Linked DNA regions of Homo sapiens: all the other regions are linked to region 1. The links are contacts of gene promoters, found by promoter capture Hi-C in blood cells and fetal thymus (Javierre and others, 2016). All regions are on one chromosome and are shown on one strand. The core of a region is centred on a gene start or on the middle of the fragment in contact, and the rest is flanking DNA. Distances in the headings are between cores, read along the strand shown. Region 1 holds the start of PLN (phospholamban). Region 2 overlaps MCM9 (minichromosome maintenance 9 homologous recombination repair factor). Region 3 overlaps SLC35F1 (solute carrier family 35 member F1). Region 4 overlaps MCM9 (minichromosome maintenance 9 homologous recombination repair factor).

Region 1 (3,253 bases), core at 366-2,865:
CTTTAGCAGCTGGTTATCTCTGACAAATTACTGTAAACCTCGTTAGGCTTCTCGGTTTTGTATTATCAATCATCATTGGTAACTGATAGTACTGAGAGATCCTCATTATGTAAGGATTGAAAGAAAAATGGTTGTAGCACTGAGAAAAGTATCAAACATTATTCTGCAATTTCCTTAACTTGGGTTTTACTTTTAAGTTGTAAATTTTCCCTTGGCAATGTTCACAGGATATCTTTGCTAAAATATTATTTTTCAGTTAGTTTTAAGCTGACTCTTTAAATATCAAATGATTTGCTCTAGAGATGGATTTTCTTTCTTTGGAAGAAGCCAAGATCATTTCCATTTAAGGGCATGTAAGCAGCTGCTGCTACACATTTTAGTTACCCATAAGAAAGTGAAGTGGGCTAAGTTCACTCTGTCATAAGCATTTAAAAAATTAAAAATTACAAGTACCTCCTCTAAAATTAAAGAAGAGATTTAAGAATTAATATTTTCGAGTGTGGTGACTTAAGTAAATCTAACATCTAAGACAACAAATTAGATAAACAGAGAAGAGGAGAATGATGCCCGGCTTTACAAAAAAATTATTTCCCCAGTTCTACTGTAAGATAAACTGTTCTAGGAAGTTCAAAATATCATCTCACTTACTAGCATCTCATTTTTATAGTAATTTTCAGGAAAGCAACTGCTAGATTAAATGAGGCACATCCTTTCAAAAACATTACAAAACTTAAATTTCAACACATCAAACCTATAAAGCCTCATTAACTGAGATGTAACTGATTTGGAATCTGTAATTATTTCTTTTTTGCCATAAAGTTGCCCTTAATACTGCATCAGTTTATTAAAAATTTGGTAAGATTGTGTAATAATTTAATGCAATTGTTTTTAAAAAATCTTAAATACTTAAAGTAGCATATTGCTATTTTGGGGGTGTTGTATGTATCAGTTTAAATATAAGTATTACTATTCACAAATATATTGTTAAACTGCTAATTGAAGAAAACACAAATGAATTAAATACATTTATTAGTTCTTTAACTGTAAGATAAAAATAATTTTTTAAAACAAAAAGCAATTAGCCTGATTTTCTCATACTCCTTCTCCCATACACACAAGAACAAGAACAAAATAAGAAAACAGGTATAAAATTTTATTGTGTAAAAATATTTCACTTTCACTAAAAGCTAACATTATGAAGACACGTATTAAAGCAACAGCAGCAAGAATTCAATGAAAGTTGTTTTGCTTATACCTGTGTTTATTTTTCTCATAATTAAAATTCCTGCAGTAACTATTTTAGCTCTTCAACATCTTCACCATTAATATTCAATTATCTCTAAGCCTGAAGATGCATGAATCTTTAACAAAAGCTTTCCACCACCTCAAGTTTACTTATTTTTTTCATTTATCTACCATATACTGTTTTAAATTAAAAACAAAAGATGAAGCACAAAGTGTTAATGACTTTTCCATACCTAAAGTAAGAAGTTCTAAAGTTTGGTTGTGATAAGACTGAGACTGTGGCTAACCAATCGAAACTTCAGAATTCCTATGTGACATCATAAGACCTCCCTAGAACACTTTTTCTCCTCCACCTACTGCAACTGTTCCCATAAACTGGGTGACAGAGTCAGAAAACTCCCCAGCTAAACACCCGTAAGACTTCATACAACACAATACTCTATACTGTGATGATCACAGCTGCCAAGGTAAGAAACAGATTTCGCTGACTTTGGTAATTCTTACTTTCTATAATTCTTAATTCCTATAATTTCTATAATCTGAACTTTTAAAATGAGTTAATTTTATGAATATCAGTTCAATCTTAGGCAATAAAATGACATGACAAAGTGCTTAAATTTATAAATGCTTATCCATTTAGTGACAGGAAAAATGAGACAACTTTGAAATGAAAAAGGTCATATTCATCTTTGATCCTGGTTACTGGTTTGTCATTTAAATTTATCTTTCACTTTTATTTTGCTTTTCAAATGTGAATTTCTGCCAATTAAAAAATCTTCCAATTATGTTACCATATTTGGTAGTAGTGGTTAATTTCTCCATGCAAAAACAATGACTTAATTTTGTTATTTATTGCTCTGCTGAGAAACAGTGCAGAACTGAGCTATTTACATCTGAACTAATATGAATAGTCATTTGACTACAACATGCACATTATCAGCATGCCTATTCCAATATTATCATAATTTCATACAGTGAATAATGAAATGGAGTTTCAGAATATATAATACAAGCTACTTTTAAAGTGCCCTTGAGGATGTTTCCCCTCTAAAGTCCAGTCAACTTTTAACAAACATTTCTAAAAAAATTCCATGCTATTAATAAATTGAGTTACTGATATTAAATTCAATATTGTATCATAAAGAAGTTTAGAAATTTTAAAACAATGTTCACAAACACAAAAAATCTGACGTTAGAGAATAATTTGATACTTTAAAAAGTTATTTTGACACACGAATATTCTTAACTATCTTATTTTCACACAAATTTGATTAAATGGATTTCTGCCTATTAATGCCTATAGTTTTGTCAAGTTATTATCCTCCAGTGGTACTCCATTTCCTCTCTCGGATTTAGAAAGAAAGGAAAAAATAAAATAAATGCCAGGAATGGAGATGCCACAATCAATTTTATGACTTCTGTTTGAATTCTACCCTATTCTTTATGTTACAATCCTCAATTTAGTAAATGAAACGTTTCCTCATTCTTAGATCTCTGTCAGGGCATACAGAAAATTACATATATTTTATTTATTTTGATTTTCATATTTCATATATATGTTAAAATAAAATTTATCTCTAAAATTCTCAATTCCTATGACAAATGTTAATTCTATTGCTCACTACAAATAAGAACTTTGTAACTCTGTAAGCAGCTTTCCTTAAGACATAAAAAAACATAATTTTTGTCTACCACTGAGGTATCCTAATTGTGTCTCCATATCTCTATACTCATATTTTTCCTTTGATAGTACATAAAAGTCATTCAGTGTAGGTGTCTTATGTTATTTGTGCATTTTTATTCAAATATCTATCAAATTACATTCTCACACTTCAAATTGGGTGTTCACGAGTTATTTTATTGTATCAGAATTTTGCTATATCACATATTACTCTAAAAAGTACACATACTTCTGGATAGAGCAGAAATTATATTAAACTTACCCTTAGCTCACTAGTATGTCTCAGTTAACAGAAATTACAGTTACAGAGACTGCTAAAATTTCAAA
Region 2 (3,285 bases), core at 217-2,716, 360 kb after region 1:
TAAATATTTCTGGTACTGAAAACAGCTTAAATTCTGAGTGAGAAGCTGAAATCTAGGATTCAGCATTCTTAAAGATACTTAGTATTTTCTGATTTTTCACTGGGAACTATAACAGTTTGGTAACTGGTGATTTTGTGAGAGTGCAGAGTAAATGAAGTTGAACCATGCAAGAAAAATTACATGACAATAGAATAGAATGTTCTCATGTTCTTTCTGATAATAAGGCCGGACTATTTTTCACCCTTGTTGTACCTTCCATTGATCCAATTTGTTATCCCTGAAGCACCTTATATAGCACAAAAGAAACAGGACTGTTTCTAAGAATGAGCCATCTTTAAAAGGTGTAGGAAACCATTAATAATAAGTTGTATTTGACAATTTTTCATTTTCCTTTGAAAACATACCAATCTAAACAACATAGTAGCTTGTTAAATAAAGCATCTTCTGAAGCATTCATTTTCAAAAATGAGGAGATTCTTTCTTTTAGAAAACAGAAGTATAGGAGTTAAATAGTTAAAAAGCCAGATGAATCCCCTCAGATTCTCCGTATCTTGTTTCTGTTAATCTAAAATAACTTCTTTGCTACAGCCCTAGTCGTTACATCTTATTAGTTATATTTAAGGTACTTAACTTGAATTATACCTTTGTATATGAACTTAGCCCTTTAGGAGTACTAACATGAACCATTTTATTAAGCTTCTATTTGTATATGGTGATTTAACTTTCTTAGTGTTTACCATTTGTATGTTTCCTTTTTCCTCTAGCTTCAAAGGAATATTTTGGCATCTAATCCCAGGGTCACAAGATTCCACATTAATTGGGAAGATAACACAGAAAAACTGGAAGATGCAGAGAGCAGTAATCCAAATCTACAGTCACTTCTTTCAACAGATGCATTACCTTCAGCATCAAAGGGATGGTCCACATCAGAAAACTCACTAAATGTCATGTTAGAATCCCACATGGACTGCATGTGACCACCTACCATCCCTTTAGTACAAATTAAGCTATTAAAAATACACAGAACTATTTCCCTGAAATTCCGTAAGTACATAGTCAAAACACAATGTGAAGAATTTGTTTAAAAACATCCTGTAGAAAGTTTATAAGAAAACCAGTATTTGAACAAATTGTGGAATATAAATACAACTATTTTTAAGTAATTTTTTTCTCTAATGTGTTATTTTATTTGTTCTGAAACTAATCTGATTAAAGCATATATATTATTTTCTTCTCCTTTATATGTAATGAAAGCACTTATAAAGAAACAGGAATCATTAGACCAGGTTGTAAAGATGTCTTGGCCTCCCAGACAGTCTTTGGACCACTATTTTACTGGCCTTTGAAAGAACAAAGTTTACTTCAACTAAAATGTTTCTTCCTGTGAAGACATATGGTATCATTTTAATTTAAGGGGCAGATTTCCATTCTTTTTTGGCATGTCCTTAAAAAGAGGATTTGAAATCAACTATATGCTACCAAGAACTTTAGGATCCAATTTTCCAAGCCACCGTGAAGCCTCTTATGGCTACTATTATAGTTCATGAGATGTTGGACAGCATTTGGTTTGTTTGGTAAGAGAAGAACAAATATGGCTAATTGTTAATAAGGTCCCCTGGCTATGGTTTTTGTTCTTATAACAGAGTTTAGAATATCAGAGCATTTCTTGAATCATACATCATTATTGTCCAGTGAATTCAAGACCAAATACAATATCGGGAGAAAATACAAACTCCCTGTGTTTAAGAATAGGGGATTACAATGGCTCAAATTGGTTCATTTGATTTCTAAAAATACCATGACCTTTAAAAATTCTTTTAATAGATCATGTTATTGGCAGTATTTATATAAAAACCATGGATTTAGAAAGGTATATTTAGCTTTATTATAATAGATACGTTACTATTTTGGAAATATATATATTTTCACACCTGTAGTACTCTTCCCCATTTCCTCTGACACTCATGCAGAATGAGATCAGGCATATTTGTGGTTGACATACTCTAGATAGCTTTTCCAACAAATCTTTGAAAAGCAATCTTGGAAAGGAATTCATTAACTAAATGGGGTAAAAGGTTTCTTTTTCTTTGAGAGTTAAGTCCTTCCTCAAAAAATTTTCTTATGCTCCATAAAATTGAGGTAGAATATTTTCATTATTCTTGCAGCTAAGCAAGACAGCCATATGATGCAGGTTATGCAGTGCCTTCATATCTAAAACTTTTATACTGCACTTTTTAAAGCTTTTATGTTGAGGAAAGGAAAAGGGCATTTGTCTAAACATGGATTCTGAGTTGTATATATTTCCTATCATTCTAAAAAAGTGAATTTGTGAAGCAAAGTTTTGCCAGATGTTAAACTTTGAATTTAATATACCAGATTATTAAAATATTGTCCATTAACTAGTTCATAGATTTTAAAAGTAAAATACTTCTGACTGTTAAAACTATATAAAGAAAATCTCATTTGTCTAATTGCAATTAAAAGAAAAATGTTAAAATATTAAAATGAAAATAAAAGCATTACTTTCCAACAAAGAGCTCAGTGGTTAATATAATAGGAACAACATATGTGCTTATTAGAAATAAAGCATATACAGCCAAATCACCAAATAAAGCCATTTACTGCTGAGTTTTTATTCTGACTAATTATAACAATCTATTTGTAGTGACATCAAAGGGTTAGGTTTTTGTATCAAGTTGTAAATGGACAACCAATTTTCACTTAAGCTTGGGACATGCGAACCATTACCTTTTGTTATCTTAAATTTTATCACTCTAAGAATTTTTTTAATGACTGAAAATAGATTTAGACTTCAAACATTAGAAACGTAAGAAACTGTAGCACATAAGTTTTTTTTCCACCCGGTCTAGCGTCATTTGCCAATACTGTATCTGAAGAACTATTTTCCACCCTTTTGCTCATAGTAAATAGCTGTGTCCTAAGAATATAAACATGAACCAATGACTTATGCCACTAAGATGGAGGCATTAAGGGTATTATTTGGGCTGAGAAAACATTCCAGAGGTCTGAAGAAGTATGCATGCATTTATTTGCCCATTCATAACCTTATACAACTTTAGGCTCCCATATAACTATACCCTCTAATTTTAGGATTTGGGGTTTCTAGCTTTCCCAAGAATGTCTATGGCAGCAGTTATCAAAACTTTTTACCATAATCCATGGTATAAAAAACTTAGGGCCGGGCGCAGTGGCTCACGCCTGTAATCCCAGCACTTGGGGAGGCTGAGGCGGGTGGATCATTTGAGGTCAGGAGTTCAAGACCAG
Region 3 (3,333 bases), core at 344-2,843, 270 kb before region 1:
GGATCATGTTCATTATAATTTTACAATTTTAGTTATAGATACATTCTATTTTATGGGTCATTCTTCAGAGGAACTACTTAAAATTAAAAGTTTGTCATTGTTTTATAGTTGACACATAAAAAAGATTAATCAGGTTGCCAAAGATTTCACATTCTGTCACAGCAACCTTAATTTTCCTAAAAGATCTGCCCAGGGACCTCTCACCAAGTCTGGTTTCTCATTAGGGCCTCATCAGATTCTCAGCTCATCTCCTGGGCAGTGATGCCTAACTCCCCATGAACCCAAAGAGAACTTCCAGCTCTCACAAAATCCCATTCTCAGCTCCATTCCCTTGAGGATGACTCCAGCACAATGCTGCCTTCAGGATCTCTTCCCCTCTATCTCCAATCCTTGACAGGAAAAAGAAGTTGCCTTAGAAAAAGTGGCACCATTTAGAGATAGAATCTTCCAAGGTGACCACAGATTCTTTGATGTGAAGCCACTGATTCTTTGATGCCCAGATTCTTTGATGTGAAGCCACTACCTAAAAACACTCAGTGCTCCCCACTGAACAGTGAGAACCCAGGCTCATCGGGGAATCCAGGGCTAAGCTATCATGAGTCCTTTCCTTAGAATCATGCTGGAGTAAGCACCCTTTCCATCCTCAACTTCCACTGCCCCAGAGCTGCAGGTCAGCTGAGCTCCTGCACTGCTGACTTATGCAGGACAGAGCCAGAGACCACTTGGGTACAGAGCCCACCAGTGAGGCCACTCTAGCTGCTTATTTCTGCTCTCCTCCTTCCCTGGCTCCATACTTCCTGGAGTGGGAAGTTTGCCCAATTCTAGGAAATACCTGGGTAAAGCATTTATTTTGTTTTAAATCAACCAAAATTGAGTTTATTTTTATTTATTTATTTATTTATTTGAGACAGAATGTCACGCTTCCCCCAGGCTGGAGTGAAGTGGCATGATCTCGGCTCACTGAAACCTCCACCTCCCGGGTTCTGAGGGATTCTTCTGCCTCAGCCTCCCAAGTAGCTGGGATTACAGGCACCCGCCACCACATCTGGCTAATTTTTGTAGTTTTAGTAGAGACAAGGTTTTGCCATATTGGCCAGGCTGGTCTCGAACTCCTGATGTCAGGTGATCCACCCGCCTCGGCCTCCCAAAATGCTAGGATTACAGGCGTGTGCCACCACGCCCAGCCCAAAATTGAGTTTAAAACAAAAAGAATTTTTAATGAAAAAATATTAATGTGATAGTGAATTACATATATTTACACTCTTATGTTACTTACCTCAGGGGAGTTGAAAATTTCAACCCATAAATCCTTTCACTCTCATTTTCTAACAGTTACACATTTTGCCCATGGTCAAAGTGCAATCTTGACGGCTTCTGTTATAGCTTCCCTCCCTGAATAGCAGAGGGTGGAAATGTATACTGATTCTGTTTGTTCTATGCCATGTTCACTAAACTGCTGGAAAATGTCCTGAAACCAATATAACTTGTGCATGTATTAGCATATATTCATAGACATTAGCCAGGTGTGGTGGCAGGTGCCTGTAATCTCAGCTACTCTGGAGGCTGAGGCAGGAGAATCCCTTAGAACTTGGGAGGTGGAGGTTGCAGTGAGCCGAGATCGTGCCACTTCATATTTGTATAAATCTGATAAGTGAAAATCTGATACCTGGACAGAAGATAGTGGGCTTTGTAGAGAGGGTGTGATCTGGAAGAGACTGATCTCTTTCTTAGAGAAGACTTCTAATTGTGTCAACATAGGCAAACTTTTTATATCAGAACGTGTCTAGAGCACAGATAAACTTTACTAAATCTCAGTTGGAAATTGCATGACTTCTATAAAAATGTCAAAATAGAATAGGCAAGGGAAGCTCAATTTGCCGATGCCAGATTCTTGTTAAGAAAGTTTTAATGATGCTCCCTCTGTTTGTTTGTTTGGTTGGTTCCTAGGGGAAAATAAGCTGGTAGGGGACCTTCTGGTCTTAGGAGGAGCCACACTCTATGGTATTTCTAACGTCTGGGAAGAATACATCATCCGAACTCTGAGCCGAGTGGAATTCCTGGGAATGATTGGTCTCTTTGGAGCATTTTTCAGTGGAATTCAATTGTGAGTAAAAATAACAAGAAATATAGATAGTAGAGGGACTGTCAAGACTTATTCTTACAATTTTTGTTCTTGGGATGTAAAAATCAAGGCTGGAATCCAGACACCAGCTTCCTGTACAAAGGACTTATGTAATCTGCCAACTCAATATCTTTATTAGTAAATCACCTCCAAATTAAACAAGTTTAATATAAATTTTTACAAAACACTTAATGTTTATAAAACATTGTAAATAATTTGCAGGAAAGCATTAGAAGCATTAGGATTGATTCTCTGAAATCCATGAGTGGGTTATTACTTAGAGAAGTAGAAAAACTAAGCATAAATGCCCCAATTCAATGCATTTCCAAAAAGGAACATTCTGTCTACTAGTGACAACCACCAATAGAAAACTTATAGTATAAAATTACCCTTTTATAAATGTGTGATTTTACTGCCCGTGGATTTGCAAGAGTGGACCATATTTCAAATTTATCTCTTAGAATTTAGCATTTCTATTTTCCTTAAAAAGGTGAAGTTATAATACAGACATTCACTAAGCATCACAAAGTCAAAAGCACCAGTTTTGCAATAATTCTACAACTGGAACGTATAAGTCATCCCTGACTATTGCCTCAGAATTTGTTATGAGCATAAGTTTCAATCAAAGCAATTTTCCACCAGTAAAGACCAATATTTTAGCTTCATGAAAGACATGAAGAATGATAGTATAACCTCCAGTCAAATTTTACTGAATCCCTTTCTACAAACAGGTAATTCTGATTTCACCAATCTCTTTCTACAAAGCAAGCACTTTCTAATTGCATGGGTTCAGTGTCTGAAATTATTTATGGAAGATATTTTAGCATCACCTTAAACAGGTTTTACAAATAGGCTGTTTTCAACAATCCACCAAATTTTGGTGTCTTGAGATACTGGTGAAAAACTTCACAGCAAACAAGGCACAGTCTGAGAAGGATTTATTTGGGGTCCATTTTGAAAGTGATGGCATTTTAAAGCTCCTAAATTTTGTGCTTCAGCTTTGTGAAAGGAAAAGGAATTATCTAGTTCAACTATTCATAGCCAACATTTTGTAGATAGATGGCTTCTTTTATGGGTTATTATTCTTGAGTCCAAAAAATATGTTCAGAGATCTAGTGCTCATTTGCTTCAGTTACAGTCTATTAGAGTTGAGTGTTCCCTTTGGGGGACAATGCCACCAAAATAATGGAAGTGGCACTAGGGTGTCCTTG
Region 4 (3,319 bases), core at 430-2,929, 340 kb after region 1:
GAGTGAGACTCGTCTCAAAACAAACAGACAAACAAACAGAAAACCAGTCTGGTAGCTCCTAAAAAGGAGTTACAATATCTTACCCAGCAATTCCACTCCTAAGCATAAACCTAGAAAAATGAAAACATTTGTCCCATCCCATGCAAAAATTTGTACACATATGTTAATAGCAGCATTTTGTGTAATAGCCAAAAAGTAGAAACCACCTAGATGTCCATCAACTGACAGATAAATAAAACGTGGTATACCTATACAATGGAAAATTATTGGGTAATAAAAAGGAATAAAGCATCAATATATAACACAACATGAAAGAAGCATCAAAAACATTATGCTTCAAAGATGCTGGTCATAAAAGACTACATATTATAAGATTCCGTTTATATGAAATGTCTAGAATAGGCAAAACTATAGAGACAAAAAGTAATTCAGTGCTTGCCTACTGCTTGGGGGATATGCTGGGGAGGGGGATGTGCTAAAGGCTACAAAGCTTCTTTTTGAGATCATGAAAATACTCTAAAATTGATTGTGATGATGGTTGCACACCTCTGAATATTCTAAAAACTATTGACTCAGATGCTTCAAATGAGTGAATTACATGTTATGTGAATTCTATCTCAACAAAGCTGTTACCTGAAAAATATTACTGTGTAATCATACCAGGGGGTACTTAGAGGTGGATTCTTTGCATGCCGGATTCAAAGCCTTATCAGGCACAAATTCTACCAACCAAATTTCTACCAATTAATTACCTATTAGCTCATTTGTGAAGCATTTCCCCTCCCTATCCTTTCTGGTTTTTGACTCTTTCTAAATGACCATGCATATGAGGCCTCCAATCTCACAAAGCCTACATGCCTAGCTTCTGCCAAGCGTCACTCCATCTAATGTCATTTGTCTCTATAGTAACCAACTAGAAAAGCTGCTATGCTTAGTAATGGCTTTGTACGAGCAGTGGTCTAGCCTAGAGATGTTTTAAAGATTTGAGTCCTCTCTACCGATTACTGTTTTTTTTCCTGGTATTAAAAAGTGAACCTCTGATGAATGAGAGCAGTAGAGGGTTAGAGAGAAAAGGATGGAATATATTATAAAACATGAAGGAAGATGGACTGCAAGTAGAGACTTGAGTTCAAGAGGAAACGAGTTTAGAAAGACCTTGATTGATAAGAGGACTAAGAAGACACAGACAAAAAACTAGGTATAAGAAACAGAAAATAATTATTAGGCATTTCCCTTCAAAATGGTCAAAAACAACATAATGATATACACACCAAGAAACTGTCAATAAATGTAATTACAGTGCTTCAGAAAGCTGACTGATGTAACCTATGGCTATGCAAAAGGTGTTTTACAGTATAGTCCAGCTATGGATAAGGGATCAGATATAGCTTATACCTTCAACAAACTTCTAACACAATGATGGGTAGAAAAGAACACAAAACAGTGAAACTTTTATTAATGACGTGGAGCAGAGAAGGGGAGAGGGTACGCTATGTAACAGACATGGAAACCTTATAAAAAGTATAAGGATGCATTCCAGGATGTGTAGCTCCATCCCCCACACCTTCCAAGGGATGCCTTTTTCAACAGGAGGCTTGACATCTGTAGTACCCCGTGGGGAGCCTCCCCCAGCTTTGCCTTGGCTGGGTCTCCTTCTCTCTCCCAGTATACACCTGGACCAACCTCATTAATGGAGCTTTGTTCCTCAAGAGTTCATTAATCAAGTCATTACTGGAGTGTCCGCCAGCCTGTGGGTTCTTCCAGAAAATGATACCAATCTATTTTTTCTACATACAAAGCCCACTTTAAAATTTACTTGACATGGTAGAGAGTACAAAGGTACTAGGACAGCCATCAGAGGAATGGGTTTCTGAGCAGCAGCATCCTCATTTGTTATATGGGATGATATCTTACCCTCCTGCCATTCCTGTTTGTGAGGCTCAAAAACAGGTATTTTAAAGTTTTTTACAAATTGTCAAGAAAACATTTTTTCTTTTGCCTATTTTAACATAACTGGTTACAGGTGCATCTAACACTTTCTATTTCGCATCATACTTATTTGATTAGTTACCTTTCCTACTGAACCATAAGGTCTTTGTATGTCTTATCTTTGACTATTTCTCACAGAGCCTAGCATAAAAATTTCACATAACAAATGCTCTCTGTATGTATGTAATGAATTATTATTGAAATCATTATTGTACAATTTACTCCATTTAGAAATGTCTATGAACTCCATCAAATCTCTAGTCTATATTTATACAGAAAATTTTATTTAAAACTATCATTAAATTTTGACATCCTATTTCTAATAAATAAAAAGGAGCCTCTTAAACTAACTAAAGACCATATTAAAACAAGCCTTACATGAGGAATTTTTTTAAGTTGGTAATAATACAAATGAGAAGACAATTCAACACAGTGATTACCCGAGGTGGAAATCTAGATTTGAACAAAAGCTAGAGGTTAGTACTTCCATTCCTATGATAACTTTTGCAGTAGACACGGGCTGACACTCAATTTAATTCCTAGTTCTAATGTATTTTAATTTGGCACATTTTGATTTAATTCAATTTTAGTATATTTGAATTCGCTCTTTCATCTTGTTTTGTGTATGACCTCAATTTGACTTCAAGTTTCACTTCTCTGTAGAGGAGTCTTGAATCCATGCAAGTAAGCTGCATCTTGTGTCTTCAGAATTCAAGCTATATGCCCAGTGGTATATACTTCCTCTGAAGAATGGCAACAGCACACCACTCCACATACGCCACACCCTTACTGGCATGGCTAAAGGACCACATCATTTCACCCACAGGAAGTGCTTGGGAACTGACCAATATTTGGATTCAGTAAGATTAGATGCTCAAATAAGCTTAATTCTGAGGGGAAAAATATCTTATAGCTATATTAGGTTGTTAGAGCTGCCATAACAAAATATCACTCACTGGGTGGCTTAAACAATAGAAATTTACTTTCTCACAGTTCTGGAAGCTAGAAATCCAAGATCAAGGTGTTGGCAGGTTTGGTTTATTCTAAAGCCTCTTTGCTTGGCTTGCAAATGGCCACCTTTTTGCTGTGTTTCCTCTGTGTGCGTGTGACCCTTGTGCTTCTCTGTAAATCTAAATTTCCCCTTGTGAGGACGCCAGCTAGATTAGATTAGGGCCCACCCCAATCACCTCATTTAACTTAATCTCCAAATACAGTCACATTCTGAGGTACTAGGGATTAGTGCTTCAACATACGAATTTGGGGGAGACATAATTCAGTCTAAAACAACAACTAACTAGTTTCATGTATTTCTGCCCTAAGCACTAGTTTA

What was found. The method cuts DNA at HindIII sites, captures the fragments that hold promoters and counts their contacts. A CHiCAGO score of 5 or more calls a contact.
Region 2: a fragment that was not itself captured here is called in contact with the fragment with the promoter of PLN in region 1 in 5 of 17 cell types (fetal thymus, total CD4 T cells, naive CD4 T cells and 2 more); the score reaches 7.2 in fetal thymus.
Region 3: a fragment that was not itself captured here is called in contact with the fragment with the promoter of PLN in region 1 in 3 of 17 cell types (endothelial precursors, erythroblasts and fetal thymus); the score reaches 5.5 in endothelial precursors.
Region 4: a fragment that was not itself captured here is called in contact with the fragment with the promoter of PLN in region 1 in 6 of 17 cell types (fetal thymus, activated CD4 T cells, naive CD4 T cells and 3 more); the score reaches 7.4 in fetal thymus.

The regions. Positions count from the first base shown.
Region 1 is chr6:118,546,681-118,549,933 of GRCh38, forward strand. It overlaps PLN (phospholamban), which reads left to right and starts at 1,616. Exons shown (of 2, transcript NM_002667.5): 1 at 1,616-1,712. All of the region lies in intron 3 of CEP85L (centrosomal protein 85L), which reads right to left. The HindIII fragment of the contact is 6,726 bases long and covers 1,372-3,253 here.
Region 2 is chr6:118,906,638-118,909,922 of GRCh38, forward strand. All of the region lies in intron 8 of MCM9 (minichromosome maintenance 9 homologous recombination repair factor), which reads right to left. ASF1A (anti-silencing function 1A histone chaperone) reads left to right here. Exons shown (of 4, transcript NM_014034.3): 4 at 765-2,534. The coding sequence ends at 977. Among named protein-coding and RNA genes, the nearest start is that of ASF1A, 14 kb to the left of the region's middle. The HindIII fragment of the contact is 1,544 bases long and covers 695-2,238 here.
Region 3 is chr6:118,273,512-118,276,844 of GRCh38, forward strand. It overlaps SLC35F1 (solute carrier family 35 member F1), which reads left to right. Exons shown (of 8, transcript NM_001029858.4): 5 at 1,948-2,104. Among named protein-coding and RNA genes, the nearest start is that of PLN, 270 kb to the right of the region's middle. The HindIII fragment of the contact is 8,984 bases long and covers 1-3,333 here.
Region 4 is chr6:118,888,470-118,891,788 of GRCh38, forward strand. The region is part of intron 8 of MCM9 (minichromosome maintenance 9 homologous recombination repair factor); the gene reads right to left. Among named protein-coding and RNA genes, the nearest start is that of ASF1A, 4.0 kb to the right of the region's middle. The HindIII fragment of the contact is 2,382 bases long and covers 489-2,870 here.